Linked DNA regions of Homo sapiens: all the other regions are linked to region 3. The links are contacts of gene promoters, found by promoter capture Hi-C in human tissues and cell types (Jung and others, 2019). All regions are on one chromosome and are shown on one strand. The core of a region is centred on a gene start or on the middle of the fragment in contact, and the rest is flanking DNA. Distances in the headings are between cores, read along the strand shown. Region 1 overlaps DDX17 (DEAD-box helicase 17). Region 2 holds the start of FAM227A (family with sequence similarity 227 member A). Region 3 holds the start of DMC1 (DNA meiotic recombinase 1).

The links. The method cuts DNA at HindIII sites, captures the fragments that hold promoters and counts their contacts. A contact is called where the count stands out against the background at its distance.
Region 1: a fragment that was not itself captured here is called in contact with the fragment with the promoter of DMC1 in region 3 in 2 of the 25 tissues and cell types used here (dorsolateral prefrontal cortex and mesenchymal stem cells).
Region 2: the fragment with the promoter of FAM227A here is called in contact with the fragment with the promoter of DMC1 in region 3 in 1 of the 25 tissues and cell types used here (IMR-90 fibroblasts).

Annotation. Positions count from the first base shown.
Region 1 is chr22:38,490,992-38,495,286 of GRCh38, forward strand. It overlaps DDX17 (DEAD-box helicase 17), which reads right to left. Exons shown (of 13, transcript NM_006386.5): 7 at 3,895-4,055; 8 at 3,639-3,811; 9 at 3,030-3,140; 10 at 2,719-2,780; 11 at 1,065-1,124. Among named protein-coding and RNA genes, the nearest start is that of DDX17, 13 kb to the right of the region's middle. The HindIII fragment of the contact is 4,436 bases long and covers 1-4,172 here.
Region 2 is chr22:38,654,393-38,658,511 of GRCh38, forward strand. FAM227A (family with sequence similarity 227 member A) reads right to left here and starts at 2,000. Exons shown (of 17, transcript NM_001013647.2): 1 at 1,728-2,000. CBY1 (chibby 1, beta catenin antagonist) reads left to right here and starts at 2,246. Exons shown (of 5, transcript NM_015373.4): 1 at 2,246-2,358. The HindIII fragment of the contact is 5,432 bases long and covers 1-2,933 here.
Region 3 is chr22:38,568,240-38,572,214 of GRCh38, forward strand. DMC1 (DNA meiotic recombinase 1) reads right to left here and starts at 1,944. Exons shown (of 14, transcript NM_007068.4): 1 at 1,804-1,944; 2 at 1-50. The coding sequence starts at 17. It overlaps LOC105373031 (a long non-coding RNA gene), which reads left to right and starts at 2,261. Exons shown (of 2, transcript NR_134627.1): 1 at 2,261-2,355; 2 at 2,514-3,119. RefSeq lists a silencer at 1,940-2,229 and enhancers at 2,533-3,043, 2,630-2,679. The HindIII fragment of the contact is 22,042 bases long and covers 1-3,975 here.

The sequences.
Region 1 (4,295 bases), core at 705-3,204, 77 kb before region 3:
GCCTGTTTAAAAACCAACCATTACTGAAAGCTTTATGTAAACTGCTTTCAGGCCTCCGCCTCCTCTCCCAACAGGCCCAAGTTCTAATGGCACAGATCCAGACATGACCTCAGAGGGCAGAGGGGCAGAGAGAACTTTCCATCATGGCTGCAGGTCACCACCTCTGAAGGAGGGAATGATGAGTGCAATGCATAAAAAGGCTTCATTACTTTTGTATTCCAGTTTGAATACCTGTTCTCTTTATATTATATAGTATAAGGGAATAATATGGTACTTCTCACCTTACTGGGCAAATTAAATACCTGTCAATAATTTAAGGATTTCCTTGTAATACAAATAATCTTTTTTTTTAAAATATAGAAGTTCTGAGTTAGACCTGTTTAGCTCAGAATAGTGGGCTAAACTACCATAAAATTCTCTGTATATCTTAAATGGTAATGGGTCAAAAACTCCAGAAAATCATCAGTTGATAACACACCTACAGATAAGTGCATGGGTAGGAGGGGATAGCCAAGTGCCCATGATAATTTGACCTCAGTAAATTAAACTGGGCAATACACATATTTGCTATTCTGATACTGCATTAGACTTATAAAATTCCATCTAATAAGCATTCATAAAACTGGACCTCTCTGTATATATCTAGCTTAGACAGGGATAGGGAAAAGAATAACTGAAGAAACTAGCTTACAATAGCTAGGTTTCGTCAGGCTTATTCTATCCAGCCAGAAACCACCACCAGAGAGAAGCTGAGCCATTCAGCTGTCTGTCTCCTCTCCCTCTGTTTGAATAGTCATGCCTAGGCCTTGCTGCAGACCAAAGCCTGTTTGTTAGGAGCAGGAAGAGACTTTGAAAATAAAAGGGGGGTGGGGGAAACCAAAGTTAAAAAAAATTGTGGGGGGGGCAGGGAATGGGGAGAATCACGCTTTGTATTTTTTTCTTTCAAATATTTATCTAACCACATGTATATACAACTTTCTAAACTTGAAGTCTGAATTTGAAATGACGAATCTTTAAACCAAAAGATACATATACCATTGACAGAGACACCTATCTATACAAACCTAGCCCACGGGAGGCTACATCTGTAGCAATAAGGATGGGTGCCTTTCCAGAACGGAACTCTGTAAAAACAAACAATAATCATCATCAAATAAGCATTCCTTGCTATCTGATCTGTTTACATAACCATGTTAAAATTTCAAATAATGGTGCCAGAAAATCCCAAGCTCTTGTAATGACTGACAGTGATTCTTTTGAAAATCTTTATTACACTCATATTCAGCAGCACAATAGTTACCTCTACTAATAATGAAATACCGTTAAGAGAGTGTGGCAATTTGTTACATAATTAATATGAGCTAGATTTTTTTCCCCTTAAAGTTATTTCCCAAATGAGACACAACCAAAAGTTGGGGGTCAGTAGGAAACAAGTTCAAAAGATGTAGAATGAAAAGAACTGAATTTCCCCCCAAAAGGTATGCATATTATTTATTTTTCTTTCTTTTTTTTGAGATGGAGTTTCGCTCTTATTGCCGAGGCTGGAGTGCAGTGGCGCAATCTCAGCTCACCGCAACCTCCACCTCCCGGGTTCAAGCGATTCTCCTGCCTCAGTCTCCCAAATAGCTGGGATTACAGGCATATGCCACCATGCCCGGCTAATTTTGTATTTTTAGTAGAGACGGGGTTTCTCCATGTTGGTCAGGCTGGTCTCGAACTCCCAACCTCAGGTGATCCGCCCACCTCAGCCTCCCAAAGTGCTGGGATTACAGGCGTGAGCCACTGTGTCCGGCCACATTTTATTTCTTAAACAAAATATGGCCTCTTCCATTTCTCAATGGCTTCCCTTAAGAGTAGTCCTGAAAAAAAGGACTGAAAGGAAATATGCTAAAATATGACTCATTAAGAAACATTTTTCTTTAAATATTTCAGTAACAGTTTAATTCTCCCCAAACGGTAGTTATATTTTTATAATCAGAAGGAAAAAATTGAAGACTTTATTAATAAAGGGAGGGTGGTGAAAGTTGTGAAAAAGTTTAAAGAGCCAGCATCGTGGCCCTTAAAGAACCATGAGCACACGCTAAAAGTACCCTCAGTAATTCAATCAACTATACAACAGGGGTAAGACAAACTGGCCTTTGGGCCAAATCTGGCACAACGCCTATTTTTGCAAATAAATATTGTCTGAACATAGCCACGTTTATCTCTTTGAGACAGGGTCCCACCCTGTCACCCAGGCTGGAGTGGCACGATCTTGGCTCACTCCAACCTGTCTCCTAGACTCAAGCAATCCTCCCACCTCAATCTCCGGAGTCGCTGGGGTTACAGGCGTGCACCACCAAGCTTGGCTAAGTTTTGTTTTGTTTTGTTTTTCTTTTAGAGACAGGATTTCACTATGTTGCCCAGACCGGTCTTGAACTCCTGGGCCTAGGTGATCCACGCGCCTCAGCCTCCCAAAGTGTTAGGATTATAGGCATGAGCCACCAACGGTGCCCAGTCCAGGCCACTTCTTTACATATTATCTACAGCCTACAGCTTTTGTCCTAAAACAGCAGTGCTGAGTGGCTATAACAGAGACCACCATTTGGTTTACAAAGCCAAGCATACTTACTATGTGGCCCTTTACAGAAAGTTTGCCTATCCCTGAAATAGAGCATGAACATTCACTTATGGGCAGGGGGTGGGGAATCAACAGAAAATGCTTAGTTTTAAACTTACCATTAAGTACCCAATCTCTTTCTGGTTGACTCTTGTCTCCATGGATACACATAGCTGGCCAACTATCAGAAGAAAAGTGACCAATATTTTAAAAATCTTTTAAAGTGGAGAAAATCGAACTTTAAAGCCAAATGCTATCATGCAATTTTTGTAAGGTTTGTCAGGCTTCATGAATAGATGACTGTGCTCATTAAAAGAGCAAACTGCATGGATAGGCATTATTGAAATATTACACAACATTTGGAATACCAATTTAGAAATTTCCAGTTAACTATAAAACCAGAGGTTAATTGCCTTGGTGCTATACTCACCCATCTCTGCGCATCCTTCGAGTCAGATCATCACAGCGTCTCTTTGTCTCCACAAATATTATTGTTTTGTTTTCCTTTTCAGCCATTATTTCTTCCATTAGTTGGATCAACCTGAAAACATGACCAACAATGCAGTCATCACACAGAAAGTTATTATGTGGACGATTATGTCTGCAATATCAACTCCCAAGGCTACAGTACTTTCTTTGCACATTACGCTTTTAAAATTTTTAATAACTATTAGAGTACTGAGTCAGGTTCTGCTATGTGCTCAAGAAATACTAACTCATACCATCCTCACAGCAAGTCTCATGTAAGTGGTATTACTCCCATTTCACAGATGAAGAAACTGCAGCACCAAGACACAAAATTGTGCAAAATTATACAGCTTGTAATCAGCAGAGCTAAATTTCAAACTCAAGAATTCAGAATCCTTGCATTTAACCATAATGCTCTGACAAATGATATGATGATGGATTATCAGAAACCTAGCAATGCTTTTAATGTTCTCAGGCCTCAAAATATACTGGTTTCTACAGTACTAATTTTGGAGGGTTATTAGAAAAGGTTTATCAGCATTATCAAATCAGAGTAAAATATCTTTCATACTTGTGGTCTTTTTCACTTTCCATGCAGACATCCACTATCTGGAGGATGTTGTGGTTGGCACTCAACTCCAGATTGCCTACGTTGATCTGGGTGTAATCACGAAGGAAATCCTCTGCAAGCTGTCTTACTTCTTTTGGCCAGGTTGCACTCCACATCAGTGTCTGCCTATCAGGCTATCAAAAAAGGAAAGGCTTTCTTTCAGGCTAAGGAACTTGGACAAATGGCATAAAGACTGCTTATTATTAGCTTTACACACCCTGATTTGGTCAACAATTTTACGGATCTGGGGTTCAAACCCCATATCAAGCATTCTGTCAGCTTCGTCCAATACAAGGTAAGTACATCGGCGAAGATTTGTCTTTCCTGACTCCAGGAAATCTATCAGACGTCCAGGAGTGGCTATGCAGATCTCAACACCTGTAAAACAAAACCAATGATCGAGCCAATCGACTAGGTGCAGTGGCTCACAGCTGTGTTCTAGCACTTTGGGAAGAGGAGGCGGGAAGATCGCTTGAGGCCAGTTCACAACCAGCCTGGTCAACATAGCAAGACCCCGACTCTACAAAAATGCAGCAGCAGCAGCCCTGGTGGCTGTACTCAATGCTGCAGAGAAGCTATTTTTTTTTTTTTTTTTGAGATGGAGTCTTGCTCTGTCAC
Region 2 (4,119 bases), core at 750-3,249, 86 kb after region 3:
ATGTACCATCCAAGCAGCGGGAAGTGAGGCTGGAAAGGTAGGAAGTGCCCAGACTGTGCTGGCCATCAAAATAGCACTAGCTACATGTGACAATTAAGTCCTTGGAATTTGGTTAATGTGACTGAATAAGTAAAATTTTAAGGCTGAATGCAGTGGCTCATACCTGTAATCCCAATACTTTGGGAGGTGGGGATGATGTCACTGCACTCCAGCCTGGGTGACAGAATGAGACCCTGTCTCAAAAAAATAAACAAAAGGCTGGGCGCGGTGGCTCACGCCTGTAATCCCAGCACTTTGGGAGGCCGAGGCAGGCGGATCATGAGGTCAGGAGATCGAGACCACCCTGGCTAACATGGTGAAACCCCATCTCTACTAAAAATACCAAAAAAAAAAAAAAAAAAAAAAATTAGCTGGGCTTGGTGGCGGGCGCCTGTAATCCCAGCTATTCGAGAGGCTGAGGCAGGACAATGGCATGAACCCAGGAGGCGGAGCTTGCAGTGAGCTGAGATTGTACCACTGCACACTCCAGCCTAGGCGACAGTGCGAGACTCCATCTAAAATAAATAAATAAATAAATAAATAAATACCAAAAAAAAAATTAGCCTGGCATGGTGGCGGGCGCCTGTAGTCCCAGCTACTTGGGAGGCGGAGGCAGGAGAATGGCGTGAACCCAGGAGTCGGAGGTTGCAGTGAGCCAAGATCATGCCACTGCACTCCAGCCTGGGCGACAGAGCGAGACTCTGTCTCGAAAAAAAAAAAAAGTAAAATTTTTTTAAAGTAAAGCAATAAAAGAATGGCTACTCCATAGATAGAACAGCCAAGAGTAAAATTTTAATTTTAATTAATTCAAATTTTGGCCAGGCGCAGTGGCCCGCACCTGTAATACCAGCACTTTGGGAGGCCGAGTCAAGCAGATCACCTGAGGTCAGGAGTTCGAGACCAGCCTGGCCAACATGGTGAAACGCCATCTCTACTAAAAATACAAAAAATTAGCCGGGCATGGTGGTGGGTGCCTGTAATTCCAGCTACTTGGGAGGTGAACACAGCAGAATCGCTTGAACCCGGGAGGCCGAGATCATGCCACTGCAATCCCAGCCTGGGCAACAGAGTGAGACTCTGTCTTAAAAAAAAAAAAAATTAAATTTTTAAATGGAAGCAGTGCAAATTTAGAAATACTGATTATATCTTGAAATAGTAATGTTTTGGACATATGGAGTTTAAAACATTACTCAAATTAATTTCACTTGGCTTTCTTTTTTACTTTTTAAAAAATGTGGCTACTAGAAAATTCCAAATCACATATGTGGCCTGCTTTATGTTTCTATTGCACAATGCTAAGCCAGATTGTGAAGATTTTAGTTCTAGGACATGGAAGTCTCCCCTCTTTTAATGCAGGGTGGTGTAGTTGGAAGAGAACTGCGCTTGGAGTCAAAGACCCCTGGGTCCTGCCCCTCACTGGATGCCCTGATACACCCACTAGGCAGCCGGTAAACTCCTTGAACGGCCTAAGTTTCTGCACTTATCAGACGGAACCAATAACACACGCTTTTAGGACTCTAGGAGATCTGGAGTTGATTCTCCAGTAGTTCTCTGTCCCTTCCTCACAATGCAACCTTTAAGTAGTCCCTGGGCCTCAGCTTCCCTTGCTTGTAGAAGCCGCCATAACGGCACGGGGAGGGGGCAGGCTGCCAGAGGTGGGTCATGGTGCGTCTGTCCGTCCGTCTTACCTGAAAGCATCGGCGGAATTTGACGAACCCGGGGCCGGTCCCGCCACGGGTCCCTCAGGGGACCCCGCAAAGTTCTGGGTCGGCCCCCGACAGCCGGTGCCCCCAAACTCACAGCAAGGGGTGCCCTTTGCCTTGTGCTGGGGGATGAGGAGGGGAGTTGGGGAGAGGCCCATTTTGCTACTCTGAGTCCAGGCGTTCTCTAGGCAACGCCGGCGCGGTCTCCACTTTCCCGTTTAGCATAACAATGGAACCTTCGTGAGCCGCCGCGTTGTCCGCGAGATGCCGTTTCTATGGTGACAGCCGGGCCGGGGGCCCAGACCAATGTGTCAGTGGAGAGGGTGAATGCAGGTCCTGGTCCTAGAGGCATGAAAAGGACCCCAGAAGACACTGCCTTTGTATAATCCGTTTGCTATCCCGAGGTGATTCACGGAGTTTCTGGGGATTGGCGCAGGCTGGCGCTGGGAACCCCCGCGCCGGTTACCCCTTTCCTCGGTGGTAGAGGCCGGGCGGGGCAGCGCATGCGCGTGGCGGGCAGGCGGCAGGAGGCGGGTGGGTCAAGGTAACTCTGGGCTACAGAGTCCTTGCTGGGGGTTCGGGGAGCGCTTGGACCCCGGCTTCTGGGACGCGTCAGGTACGTCTCCGAGTCCGGCGTCGCCGGCCAGCGCTGCCTGGGTTCACTCGGGGGCCCGAGCTGAGTAGGACGTCCGGGCCTCGCCTGGAGAGAGGCTTCAGGAGGGCCTGGGGAAGGGGACGGAGGCCGGGCGACCCCGGGCGGTGGCCGCCCTCCTCTGTGTGTCTCCGCGGTTGTGAATTGGGGCGGTAATTCCTCCCCGTAGGTCGCCGTGAAGATGATTGCATGAGATCGTGCGTGTGAACGTTTGTTGACAGCTGTTACTTGAGTCCGACAGCCCTGGGGGCCGTGCATCTGCGTAACATGGCTACCTCTGAACTCCTTGGGGGACACGTATATCTTTGAGAATCCGATGAAAACCAGAGATTCCGCCCTTGTTTTCTTAGAATTAAAGTAAGATAATATATTTTATGGCCTGTTGCAAACGGAAAACCTTTACACAATGATTAGTGATTAGTATCAGTATCTGTGGACTGGGAAGGCTCTACTTACTCGATCCTCTTCCCAGGGTCGTTGTGAGGATCAAGTGCACAGCTTCCTATAAACACTAAAACACTATAACATCTTGTGAGCCAGGTACTATTATTATTCCTCAGTGCAAAGAAAGAAGCCGAAGTCCAAGGGGGATAAATGCTGGGGTCCCACTGTGGGTGAGCCGCAGAGTGATCATTGGAAGCCAGGTGCTCCCCCTTCACTTCCTGTGTGCGGAGCACGCTCGCCCTGGGAGTTTCACTAGAAAGAAGGTTGCCATGGGCCAGTGGGACAGCTTGTATCTCAAGTGCACGCGGATGCCCCAGAATCCCAGGATCTCAGCTGAGCTGTTTGTGGATTATTAGATCTGACTTAAAAGGTAGCTAATCCAGACCCTTCCTCATCTGTAATACATGGATGACAGCTCCCAGCTGTAGTGTTATGAGAATTAGTGCGGTCATGAGTAAGGTGCCCAGTTAAAGCCCGAGAAGTAAAGCAGCTGGGCCAAGGTCTAGCAGGCAACTGAAGGGGAGAGCCAGGCCCCTAAACTTGTTGTGTCCAGCCCATGTGCTCAGGCCCAGTGCAGTTAGCATCAGTGGGGACTTGACTTATTTCTCCTTCTTCAAATGTCTCTAGATTTTAGGCATGCTGGGGGCTGCTTCTTAACTGTGTTTTGTTTATTTTGTTCATAAGTAATACATGAATATATTCTCATTGTAATAATTCATTAAATCTCGAGTATATTTAATATAATTTTATATTGTACCATATGAAATTGTCACAATTTGACCTTTTTTTAACCTATAAAATGACAAGTTCATTCAAGTCAGTCATCCTATTCCCTTTTTCAGGTTTAACCACTATGAACAGTTTGGTGTATCCTTCCAGATCTCTTTCTTTCTTTTCTATTTTTTTTTTCTTTGAGATGGGGTCTTGTTCTGTCACCCAGGCTAGAAAGCAGTGGTGCAATTTCAGCTCACTGCAACCTCTGCCTCCTGGGTTCAAGCAATTATCCTGCCTCAGCCTCCTGAGTATCTGGGACAACTGGCGCACACCACCACACCCGACTAATTTTTGTATTTTTAGTAGAAACAGGGTTTCACCATGTTGGCCAGGATAGTCTCGATCTCTTGACCTCGTGATCTGCCCAACTCGGCCTCCCAAAGTGCTGGGATTACAGGCATAAGCCACCGTACCTGGCCTCTTTCTTTTTTTTAATACACACATATATTACTTTATTTTATTTTATTTTTTTTTGAGATGGAGTCTGACTCTGTTGCCCAGGCTGGA
Region 3 (3,975 bases), core at 694-3,193:
ACTTGATCCTCCTTCATATTGAAAAGTGGGCAACAGAAAAATAATCACTTCTGGGAAAATAAGAAATATTATGTAAGAAGTAGTCCTTTGTCCAGGGGCCTCTGATTTCATTTCAAAGTCAACAAGGACTAGAAGGACAGTAAGAGAAGCATTTAGCTTGGAAAGATGAGGCCAGCCTATCTTCTTTCTGCGAGACATGTGACATTATTTCTTGTGTGTGTGTGTGTGTGTGTGCATGTGTGTGTGTGTCCCCACATGCACACAGATGCCTGAGGGGCAAATTGGGGGGTGCTTATTTAGTTTCTTCTCTTTCCCCAACAGTGATCACTTATCATCTGGTTTCCATTGCACAGCTAATCATGACTTTATTACTGCCTTGAATGTTATTTAGAATTGCATATTGCTTTTAACCTTTCTTGTTTATGTTTAACAACAATACTCTAGGAACCTTGACATTATATCATTCTTCCTTGTGTCCTCCCTGACACCTCCAACTTTGTCCTCAATAAATGGATTCTATTTTTCTCATCTATGATGAATGCCTTCCTGCCTGCTGATTATGAATGGGTACTCCTGTAACATCCACCTTTTTGTTTCATAGAACATTAGCTATACTTTCTTTCACAGTATTTACTAGTTTCATGATTTTTTTAAGATTTAAAAATATGGTGGTCCGGGTGTGGAGGCTCATGCCTGTAATCCCAGCACTTTGGGAGGCCGAGACAGGCAGATCACGAGGTCAGGAGTTCGAGACCAGCCTGGCCAATCCCCGTCTCTACTAAAAATACAAAAAAATTAGCCGGGCGTGGTGGTGGGCGCCCGTAATCCCACCTACTTGGGAGGCTGAGGCAGGAGAATCGCTTGAACCTGGGAGGCGGAGGTTGCACTGAGCCGAGATCATGCCACTGCACTCCAGCCTGGGCGACAGTGCGAGACTCAGTCTCAAAAAAAAAAAAAAAAATTGGTGGATCATAATATTATATTAAGGCTGATAAGCAGTTAAAGTTTTTAACATTGTAGACTCAAAAAGAAATCTCAGGAATCCACAAGGCGTGATTGTGTTTATTTATTACAATAAAATGCGGTCCAAATCATCATTTTTCTTGGTCGATTCCATTTCCTCATTTGATACCAAAGTCAGGGGTTGGACCCTAGAACAAAGGGAACGAACCATTAATACTAAGGCAGGAGCAGGGTCCTACCACCCAGCACCTCAAACGGCAAAGGATGGAAGGCAACCGAGACCGTTCGGATGGGATCTTCGGGGACACTGTCCTTCAGATGGCTAGCTATGAGTACCCCAATTCCACATTTACTGTCCCCATCGAAGAGAAAAACAGCATTCATTTCTTCTCCCCGTGATGAAATGAAAAGATTGTCCCCCATCTCTCAAGGAGCCGTTGATAGACTGAACCGTTGGATTGAAAGTAGGGCTCCCCAATCCCCCGGTTTAAGACGACCCAGCTGTCCCCTCTGGTGGGGGCAGCAGCGCGGTCGGGTCGCCCTCGACGCCTCCCTCAGCAGGAGGCCTGGGCAGACCCCCTGCGGCCGCCGGACATTTTCCTGACACCGGATTCCCTGGTCAGGAGGATGAGGCGGGCTCTCCTAGACTCAGGTCCGATTCGATTGAAAATGAGGTTGGAAATCCCTCAAGATCACTAAAATTCCTCCCCAAAGGTCGGAGCGGAACGCTCAAAGTCACTAGCCCAGGGACCCCAAAAAAGGAGCGAGAAAGGGAAGCGCGCCTTCTCAAAACGAGCGTCCCCTCAGAGTCTTCGCACGCTGTTCGTTTTTGCCACTTACCCCCCTCGTACCCACAGTCTCCCCGAGATTTTCAAGGTGAAGCCCCTCTGCCCCGCCCGACCTCCTCAGCTGACAGGATTCTAACTCGGGCCTAGAACACGGAGCCTGGAGACCCGCGCGCCGTTGACCACAGGGTTTGGCGCCAAACGAGGAGGGCGGGGCGAGGACCAAGGGGCCGGGGCGGGGCGCAGGGTGAGGGTGGAAGGGCGGGGAGGGAGCAGGCCTACAGAGGGCGACGAGGGGCGGGGAGCAATGGGGGCGGGGCGAAGACCGAAGGGCGGGGAACGAGCGGGCTCACAGGTGGGGGGACCAGAGGGCGTGGCCTGGAGGGGGCTCAGGGCGAGGGGGCGGGGCGAGGGCTGAGGCGCGGAAAACGAAGAGGAGCCCCAGCGGGTGGCGAGCTGGGATGACGGAGGGAGGGAGGGAGGGGCGCTGTGGAAGGAGCGCGCTGAGGAGCGGGGCCTTGAAGGGAGACCGTTGAGCTGGGGCGTCCCTCGAGCTGAGCACCTCGCTAAAGTCCGGGAGAAGACCCTGAGGCGGGGTTCTGAGGAGGTAGCCTTGAGTCGGGGGAGGGGCGATGAGCAGAGGTGGCTGACTTTGGCGATAGGTCTTGGTCGCGAGGGTTGCAGATGGAGCCTTGGCTTAGAAGGTCGAATCCGGGCCCGTTTCCCCCCGCCCCCGCTGCCCATGGCTTCTCTTTTCACCTCCAGGTTTTCATGCTGGCTTCAGAGTTTGGCCGTGCTCCCTCAGCGTTCCTAATTTCCCACTTTCTGACTCTCACCATTTGCCACTCTTGTCTGTGATTGAGACACCCGAGGCCCATTCAGGATGGAGAGTAATTTTTTCTCTGTCTTAACTTGAAGTTTTAAATAGACCACAGACGCCAAGTATATTTTGGTTCAGCTTTTAAATAGAAGTCGCAGGCCAGCCTTCGTGCCAGCAGCGCCATCGCTGGCAGCATCCTCCTCCTCCCCTCACGCGGAGACTGACTTGGGGAGAGTCAGGAAACATTTGAGAGAGCAGCTGCCGAGGTGGAGGCTGTGATGTATCTTGGATGAATCTCTGTGCAAACAGTTCTTTGGGTTCAAGACCTAGTACAGGGCGATCCTTTTTGTTTTTTCTGTCTGAATCATTTTGGTGGAATAAATAGCAAAACATTCCCACAATAGCAGTTGGCATTTTGTGTAGGACGCACCCCCCCAACAGGTGGATTGTTTTAAGAGCCAACAAATAACTGCCATTGTGCTTCCAAATCTGTTATTTTCCCCCAAACACAGTCGTCCTTGTTATATGGAGATGAATGCCCATTTGGGGGAGGAACTGGATAGTGGTGAAAGGCTTTCGCTCTGAGGCCTCACCTAAATAATTATGGGAACTTTTGAGCAACTCGTTAGGTGAAGACATCAACAGTCTACAGAAGAGCTGCAAAGAGCACAGCAAGATGATTTAGGGAAATATAACATATGTAGTTTGGTGTAGTGACAGCTGGGAGAGAGAAATGTTCATAATATTTGAAGGTTGTGTGCAGTACACTTAAAAAAACTAAAATGAGCTGGGTAATGACAAATTCATGAAGGGAGGAGAAAAATCTTATCTGGGTATCATATCGATGGTTAGAGACAACTTTTAAGATATTTAAAACAACAACAAACTCTAGGACAGTTAAAAAGTGCACATGAAGACTTTCCACTAAAATCGGAACCAAAAAAATTGTCTTTCGTATCATACAAAAACTCTGAATATCATGAAGGTGGCATTTCACATCAGTGGAGAAATGATGAATTCAGTGAATAGTGTTAGAACAACTAGGTAACCATCTGGAAGAAAAATAAAATTGGAACCACACTTTACACATTATACCAAAATAAATTCCAGACAGATCAAAAAATTAAATCTGAACAATAAAATAATAAAAGTACTAGAAGAAAATATGGGATATTTAAAATTACTTTGTAATAAGAAACATCTTTTTAAGTATGCTACAAAACTCAGAAGCCATGAAAGATTGTTAAGTATGCTTATATTTAAAAAAATATATCCTGCATGGCAAAATGGTACTTTCCTATCCACAATATAGAACATGGCAAACCAGAGCTTTTGTGTCAATTATTAACTGGATAATATAGCTTGCCTAATTTTTCAAATCCTTCAGGAAGTCCACAATTTCTCTAC